Regions from separate parts of the Homo sapiens genome. Here all the other regions are linked to region 1. Evidence: promoter capture Hi-C in human tissues and cell types (Jung and others, 2019). All regions are on one chromosome and are shown on one strand. Each heading gives the region's core, a stretch centred on a gene start or on the middle of the fragment in contact. The rest is flanking DNA. Distances are from core to core; before and after follow the strand shown.

The links. The method cuts DNA at HindIII sites, captures the fragments that hold promoters and counts their contacts. A contact is called where the count stands out against the background at its distance.
Region 2: a fragment that was not itself captured here is called in contact with the fragment with the promoter of SLC2A11 in region 1 in 1 of the 25 tissues and cell types used here (spleen).
Region 3: a fragment that was not itself captured here is called in contact with the fragment with the promoter of SLC2A11 in region 1 in 1 of the 25 tissues and cell types used here (dorsolateral prefrontal cortex).

The regions. Positions count from the first base shown.
Region 1 is chr22:23,856,443-23,859,474 of GRCh38, forward strand. SLC2A11 (solute carrier family 2 member 11) reads left to right here and starts at 1,433. Exons shown (of 12, transcript NM_001024939.4): 1 at 1,433-1,587. The coding sequence starts at 1,558. The HindIII fragment of the contact is 17,543 bases long and covers 1-3,032 here.
Region 2 is chr22:23,726,816-23,729,789 of GRCh38, forward strand. LOC124905088 (a long non-coding RNA gene) reads right to left here. Exons shown (of 2, transcript XR_007068020.1): 2 at 2,915-2,974. Among named protein-coding and RNA genes, the nearest start is that of ZNF70, 23 kb to the right of the region's middle. The HindIII fragment of the contact is 7,610 bases long and covers 1-2,974 here.
Region 3 is chr22:23,665,882-23,668,681 of GRCh38, forward strand. It overlaps the pseudogene GUSBP11. Among named protein-coding and RNA genes, the nearest start is that of RGL4, 24 kb to the right of the region's middle. The HindIII fragment of the contact is 3,182 bases long and covers 1-2,800 here.

The DNA of each region.
Region 1 (3,032 bases), core at 183-2,682:
TTATTGATGTAACTGATCTCATTAACAGATTAAAGGAGAATACCCATATGATCATCTTAATAGATGCACGAAAAGCATGCAATAAAATACCTATTTATTATAACTGCTAATATTTTGTGTTTTTCCTTAAAAATGCAGTGTTTTTAGGAATTAAAGTTCAGAGCAGCAAAAGTCAAACAAAAACCAAGTCTGAGCAATAGAGCTACTACAGTGCCCATCACAGTGTCTGCTCAGGTGACTTCTTAAGGTCATGTCCAGCTCTATGTTTCTGTGACCACAAATAGCATCTTTGGCAAGTCTAGTTTCAGTTGGTCTTTGTCCAGCTCCTGGATTCCTCCATGCAGGGCCTGAGAAGCCCTGAGGGATAAAAGATTAATCCGGTTCAGTGGACTCTGTGGTTCCTCAACTCCAAGTGCCCCCAGCATAAGTCGGACCTGCCTCTCACGCAATGGATCCCCTGGCGGCAACCCGAGACCGGTTCTCCTACCCGCATTCCGCCAAGTCTCTCGCTCTGCCCAGGACGCACAGATGAGAGCGCTCCGAAGACTGGTGGGTCTATCTTTCGGTCTTTCCTAATTTTCCCGTCCTCTGGGGAAAGGTCGGGGATACCTGAACCAAAGTGTGTGTGTGTGGGGGGGGGGGGGTGTAGGTGGGGCGTGCATAGATGTGCACAACCAAGGGCTTGGCCCTCCGGAGAACGCCCAGGGGCAGTGGCCTCCGAGGTTCTGGCGGCCGGCAGTGGCGACCGGCGCAGGGAATCGCGCAGGGTTGCGGCTGAGGTCAGACCAGCGAGAGACAGAGACCCGCAGACATTTAGTCCAGAGACTGTAGCAAAGGAGGGGGACGAGGGGCCAGAGCCGGAATTTCGGGGGAGGACTTGGGAGCGCGGCGACCAGAGTCGCTTGCTGGCACTTGCGAGGGCGAATGCAGGGGCTTGGCCGAGATGACCTTGGACCAGAGCTCCCTTCCGGCCTGCAGAGATGAGCTTGGGGCTTAGCCGAGTAAGGAGTGAGCGGCTTTTCAGCCTCAGTGCTGCGGCAGAGGCGGATGGAGGATGAACTGGAGCCGTCCTTACGGCCTCGGACGCAGGTGAGCTCCCAGCGGCGGCGACAAACCCCGCGGCGGTGACCCCAAACCCCCCCCCCGCGGCGGCGACTCCCCCCCAACACGCTGGGGCGAACTCCCCAGCACCCCCAGCCCTTCTTAAAAACGCTGAGTCCGCGCATGCGCCTCAGGCGCCCTCCGCGACACTCTAGCGGCTCTGCGCTTCACTGCGCCTGAGCTTGAGTCTCAGGCCTTAGTCCCGGCCATCGTTTAGCGTTGCGCGAACCCTCAGCTGGTGCGGCCGCTCTCAATACCCACTGCGCTTGCGCTACAGCTTCGTCTCGACGGGTTTGCTCCTCTCAAACGCTCACTGCGCGTGCGCTAGCGCCTCTTTCACCACTGGGCGCTGCGCGCTGCCCTTCCCTCCGCGCACAGGCTGCCGGCTCACCGCTTGCTAATGGCAGCCGGGGTCTCCCTGGGACAGCAAGACCTCCGCTCAGGCCCCTCTTTCGAATGCTCCACGCCCTCCTGCGATCTAGAATGGTATGAATTCTCATACTTGCCCAGACCAGGCGTTTCAGATGAGGGATTGCGGACCTGAGTGAACTGCGCAGGTGCAGCCACCTGGGAGGCTTAACTAAGTCGTCAAATGTTCAAAAATATCGTGCTTGTATGTACAGTGGCGTTAGGTGCTAGGCTCAGATGTGCATAGGCAGGTGTTTACGCCCAGGGTCGGCCTGTGGGCCAGAGCAAGGTTGCTGGACCCTGGCATCCCAGCCCCCAGAGATGCTAAATCCTCTGCCGATCAGCCCTGACCTCAGAGGCAGTAAGCCCTCCGAGCGCTGCAATCCTGACTGCTCGCCCCCTCCCGAGACTGTTTCCCACCCCCGCCTCTTTCCTCCTCATGCTCCCTCAGCTCTGACCTGACGTCCTGCCTCACAGAGGGAAAGGGCGCAGCCAGAGGAGAGCGCCCGCACTGCACTGCCCACCGCTTCTAGGGGTTCCTTCCCAATCTGGACTGATTTCTTTAGGTATTTGCATGGCACATTCCCTCACCTCCTTTGTCTTGATTTGCACTTGTATTCCTTGACAGCCTTATTTAAAATAGCACCAACTAAGGTGGGAGGATCGCCCAGGAGTTCGAAGCTGCAGGGATCTAATAGGATCTCACCACTGCACTCCAGCGTGGGCGACGTAGCGAGACCTTGTCTCTAAAAAATAAAAATAAAATAAAATAAAATAAAATAGCACCACCTGGTCCAAACACTTCCTACGCCCCTTCACTGCTTTAAGTCTCTGTAGCACCAGCTGATGTACTATATATTTTGCTTGTTCATTTTGCGATTGCTTGTCTTTCTCTGCTGGAAGGAAAGCTCTGACAGCTCATGGATTTTGTCTGTTGTTCACTGCTGTATCCCAACACCTAGAACAGTAGGATTATTGACCATAATAGGGAGGCAATAAATCTTTGTTTGCTGAATTAATGGTCCCTATCGTAGCTAATGTCTGAATGCTTACCATGACCAGGCACGGTATAGGCAATCTCCATGCATGATCTCATTGAATTCAACGATTTCCTGTAGTCTTAGAGACCTGTCAATATCTCCTGCTACATGAGCTCAGCTGCCATCAAGCACTGTGTTCGCTGCTTCCTTCACATCTGCTGTCTTAAGGGAGCTCTCACTTCCATGCGGCCCCCGTGGAGCTGTAATTTGGCCTCAATGGGACCAGATGCCAGGTTTCTCACCTGGCTTCTTCCTAAGGCTTCCAGCCTTAGAGAAAGTTACTTAGGCCTTATTGGAACTATGGGCAGCCAGGGCCCCTGTCACCAACCTGTCTCCAGACCTATGGCAAGGCCTTCAGCAGGATTCTGCCCTCCAGAGCCACTTCCTCTGCTCCCCCAGCCTCCAGTGCAGTATCTCACTGAATGGTGAAAGCACAGCTGTCTCTTTCCCAGCTGTATCTTGCCCCCCAGCACACTTCCTGGC
Region 2 (2,974 bases), core at 309-2,808, 130 kb before region 1:
CCCTGCTGTATGACCCAGCCCTTACTCTCATTCACTGTTTTCCAAACATTCAAGCCACTTTCTGTTCCTCAAAAGCCCATTCCTGCCTTAGAGACTTCACACCCGTAGCTCTTACAATTTCTGCTTCTTTATCATTGAAGCCTCAGCTCAAATGTCACATCCTCAGTAAGCTCCCATCTGCCCACTTTTTAAATTATGGTAACTAACCATGGAAGTTCAGCAAATATTTCTTTCTCCCTCTTTTTAGACACGAAGTGGAATTGCATGTCTTTGACTTTGTCATGTGAGGGGTGACCATGTGACTTTTTTGGTCCATAAAATGTAAAGAGCAATTTTTTCTTTTTTTGAGAGACAGGGAGTGTCTCACTCTGTCACCCAGGCTGGAGTGCAGTGGCACGGTCTCAGCTCACTGCAACCTCTGCCTCCCAGGCTCAAGTAATCCTCCCAACTCAGCCTCCCAAATAGCTAAGATTACAGGCGAATGACACTGCGCTGGGGTAATTTTTTGTATTTTTTGTAGATACGGGTTTTTGCCATGTTGGCCAGGCTGCTCTCGAGCTCCTGAGCTCAAGTGATCTGCCCGCCTTGGCCTCCCAATGTGCCTGGATTACAGATGTGAGCCACCACACCCAGCCTTAAACAGCAAAAAAAAAAAAAAAAAAAAAAAAAAAAAAAAAAATTTGAGGCGGAATCTCACTCTGTCACCCAGGCTGGAGTGCAATAGCGTGATCTTGGCTCACTGCAACCTCTGCCTCCCAGGTTCAAGCAATTCTCCTGCCTCAGTCTCCTGAGTAGCTGGGACTACAGGCATGTGCCACCACATCCAGCTAATTTTTTTATTTTTAGCAGAGATGGGGTTTCACCACATTGGCCAAGCTGATCTTGAATTCCTGACCTCAGGTGATCCACCCACCTCGGCCTCTCAAAGTGCTGAGACTACAGAAGTGAGCCACCACGTCCAGCAGGCAGCAACATTTTTAAGAGCCAATGCCTGATTTTCTGCATCATCCCTTTTTCCTGTCTTGGTGATCACAGAAGCACGTGTCGAAATTGAGCACCTCTCAGTCAGGATCCCTGAGCAACTTATGGAAATCAAAGCCCCCTTTCCAACCAGTGATGGATGTGTAGGATGAATGAGAAATAAACCTTTATTGAGTCAAAAGACTGAGGTTTTGGAGTTGTTACTGCAGCTTAATTAGCCTGTCCTGACTGATACACTATGTGCCAGACCCTCATCTGGGGTCTCTACCCACATTATCTCATCTACTTCTCACAACATCCGAATAAAGTAGCTTGTCCGCTTATAAAGGAATAGCTGAGGCTGAGGCTGGGTCATTTGTCTTTTTTGTCCAAAAGAGACTTGTTTGGCTCATGGTTCTGCAGGCTGTACTAGAAGCATGGCCCCAGCATCTGTTTCTGCTGCAGGATTGGAAGCTTCCACTCATGGCAGAGGCAAAGGAGAGCTGTGTGCAGATCACATGGCAAAGGAGGAAGCGAGAGAGCAGAGGTGCCAAGCTCTTCCAACAACCAGTTCTTACAGTAACTAAGAGTGACAATTGGCCAAGTGTGGTGGCTCACATCTGTAATCCCAGCACTTTGGGAGGCCGAGGCTGGGGGATCACTTGAGGTCAGGAGTTCGAGATCAGCCTGGCCAACATGGCAAAACTCCATCTCTACTAAAAATACAAAAATCAGCCAGGCATGGTGGCAGGTGCCTGTAATCCCAGCTACTTGGGAGACTGAGGCAGAATTGCTTGAACCCAGGAGGTGGAGGTTGCAGTGAGCTGAGATCGCACCACTGCACTCCAGCCTGGGCCACAGAGCCAGACTCTGTCTCAAAAAATTTTGAAAAAGCTGGGCGCAGTGGCTCGTGCCTGTAATTTCAGCACTTTGGAAGGCTGAGGCAAATGGATCGCCTGAGGTCAGGAGTTCAAGACCAGGCTGATCAACATGGTGAAACCCTGTCTCTACTAAAAATACAAAAATTAGCTGGGCCTGGTGGCGGGTGCCTGTAATTCCAGCTACTCGGGCGGCTGAGGCAGGAGAATCGCTTGAACCCCAGAGGTGGAGGTTGTGGTGAGCTGAGATCACACCATTGCAGTCCAGCCTGTGCAACAAGAGCGAAACTTCGTCTCAAAAAAAAAAAAAAAAAAAAGAAAAGAAAAAGAAAGAAAGAAAGCATTTTGTAGTCAGGCTCTCACTATGTTGCCTAGGCTGGCCTTGAACTGTTGGCCTCAAGCAATCCTCCCAGCTCACCCTCCCAAAGTGTTGAGATTATAGGCATGAGCCACCATGCCCGGCCTCAAAGACTTTCAAATTTATGTTTGAAGAAGGAACTGACGGAGTCATGGGTTTTATTATATACTCATATATTGCAAGAAAAGAGAACTGCCAATTTTCATACTCTGGGTATATATGAATGAAATGTATAGTTTTTATTTTTTTTTACTTCATTTTATTTTATTTTATTTTTGAGATGGAGACTCGCTCTGTCACCAAGGCTGAAGTGCAATGGTGCCATCTCGGCTCACTGCAACCTCTGCCTCCTGGGTTGAAGCGATTCTCCTGCCTCAGACTCCTGAGTAGCTGGGACTACAGGCGCCCGCCATCACACCTGGCTAATTTTTTGTATTTTTGGTGGAGACAGGGTTTCACTGTGTTAGCCTGGGTGGTCTCGATCTCCAGACCTCATGATCCGCCCTCCTCGGCCTCCCAAAGTTCTGGGATTACAGGTGTGAGCCACTGTGCCCAGTCAGATTTTTTTAATAGAAATGGGGTGTTGCTACATTGACCAGGCTTGTCTCAAACTCCTGGCCTCAAGTGATCCTCCCGTCTCTGCCTCTCAAAGTGCTAGGATGACAGGTGTGAGCCACCGTGCTCGGCCCATATGTAAATAAATACAAGTGTTTATATCTTTATGTGTACAGAGATGTCATTTGATATTTTAATTGTTACTTTAATATTCTAATAGCAA
Region 3 (2,800 bases), core at 122-2,621, 190 kb before region 1:
TGAAGGCAGAAATAAAGATGTTCTTTGAAACCAACGAGAACAAGGACACAACATACCAGAATCTCTGGGACACGTTCAAAGCAGTGTGTAGAGGGAAATTTATAGCACTAAATGCCCACAAGAGAAAGCAGGAAAGATCTAAAATTGACACCCTAACATCACAATTAAAAGAACTAGAGAAGCAAGAGCAAACAGATTCAAAAGCTAGCAGAAGGCAAGAAATAACTAAGATCAGAGCAGAACTGAAGGAAATAGAGACACAAAAAACCCTTCAAAAAAAAATCAATGAATCCAGGAGCTGGTTTTTTGAAAAGATCAACAAAATTGATAGACCACTAGCAAGACTAATAAAGAAGAAAACAGGGAAGAATCAAATAGACGCAATAAAAAATGATACAGGGGATATCACCACCGATCCCACAGAAATACAAACTACCATCAGAGAATACTATAAATGCCTCTACGCAAAAAAAAACTAGAAAATCTAGAAGAAATGGATAAATCCCTAGGCACATACACCCTCCCAAGACTAAACTAAGAAGAAGTTGAATCTCTGAATAGACCAATAACAAGCTTTGAAATTGAGGCAATAATTAATAGCTTACCAACCAAAAAAAGTCCAGGACCAGATGGATTCACAGCCGAATTCTACCAGAGGTACAAGGAGGAGCTTGTACCATTCCTTCTGAAACTATTCCAATCAACAGAAAAAGAAGGAATCCTCCCTAACTCATTTTATGAGGCCAGCATCATCCTGATACCAAAGCCTGGCAGAGACACAACAAAAAAAGAGAATTTTAGACCAATATCCTTGATGAACATTGATGCAAAAATCCTCAATAAAATACTGGCTAACCGAATCCAGCAGCACATCAAAAAGCTTATCCAGCATGATCAAGTGGGCTTCATCCCTGGGATGCAAGGCTGGTTCAACGTACGAAAATCAATAAACGTAATCCAGCATATAAACAGAACCAAAGACAAAAACCACATGATTATCTCAACAGATGCAGAAAAGGCCTTTGACAAAATTCAACAACACTTCATGCTAAAAACTCTCAATAAATTAGGTATTGATGGGACATATCTCAAAATAATAAGAGCAATCTATGACAAACCCACAGCCAATATCACAGTGAATGGACAAAAACTGGAAGCATTCCCTTTGAAAACTGGCACAAGACAGGGATGCCCTCTCTCACCACTCCTATTCAACATAGTGTTGGAAGTTCTCGCCAGGGCAATCAGGCAGGAGAAGGAAATAAAGGGCATTCAATTAGGAAAAGAGGAAGTCAAATTGTCCCTGTTTGCAGATGACATGATTGTTTATCTAGAAAACCCCATCGTCTCAGCCCAAAATCTCCTTAAGCTGATAAGCAACTTCAGCAAAGTCTCAGGATACAAAATCAATGTGCAAAAATCACAAGCATTCTTATACACCAATAACAGACAAACAGAGAGCCAAATCACGAGTGAACTCCCATTCACAATTGCTTCAAAGAGAATAAAATACCTAGGAATCCAACTTACAAAGGATGTGAAGGACCTCTTCAAGGAGAACTACAAACCACTGCTCAATGAAATAAAAGAGGATACAAACAAATGGAGGAACATTCCATGCTCATGGATAGGAAGAATCAATATCGTGAAAATGGCCATACTGCCCAAGGTAATTTATAGATTCAATGCCATCCCCATCAAGCCACCAATGACTTTCTTCACAGAATTGGAAAAAACTACTTTAAAGTTCATATGGAACCAAAAAAGAACCCACATTGCCAAGTCAATCCTAACCAAAAAGAACAAAGCTAGAGGCATCACGCTACCTGACTTCAAACTATACTACAAGGCTACAGTAATCAAAACAGCATGGTACTGGTACCAAAACAGAGATATAGACCAATGGAACAGACCAGAGCCCTCAGAAATAATGCCGCATACCTACAACTATCTGATCTTTGACAAACCTGACAAAAACAAGCAATGGGGAAAGGATTCCCTATTTAATAAATGGTGCTGGAACAACTGGCTAGCCATATGTAGAAAGCTGAAACTGGATCCCTTCCTTACACCTTATATAAAAATTAATTCAAGATGGATTAAAGACTTACATATTAGACCTAAACCATAAAAACCCTAGAAGAAAACCTAGGCAATACCACTCAGGACATAGGCATGGGCAAGGACTTCATGTCTAAAACACCAAAACCAATGGCAACAAAAGCCAAAATTGACATATGGGATCTAATTAAACTAAAGAGCTTCTGCACAGCGAAAGAAACTACCATCACAGTGAACGGGCAACCTACAGAATGGGAGAAAATTTTTGCAACCGACTCATCTGACAAAGGGCTAATATCCAGAATCTACAATGAACTCAAACAAATTTACAAGAAAAAAACAAACAATCCCATCAAAAAGTGGGCAAAGGATATGAACAGACACTTCTCAGAAGAAGACATTTATGCAGCCAAAAGACACATGAAAAAATGCTCATCATCACTGGCCATCAGAGAAATGCAAATCAAAACCACAATGAGATACCATCTCACACCAGTTAGAATGGCGATCATTAAAAAGTCAGGAAACAACAGGTGCTGGAGAGGATGTGGAGAAATAGGAACACTTTTACACTGTTGGTGGGACTGTAAACTAGTTCAACCATTGTGGAAGTCAGTGTGGCAATTCCTCAGGGATCTAGAACTAGAAATACCATTTGACCCAGCCATTCCATTACTGGGTATATACCCAAAGGATTATAAATCATGCTGCTATAAAGACACATGCACACGTATGTTTA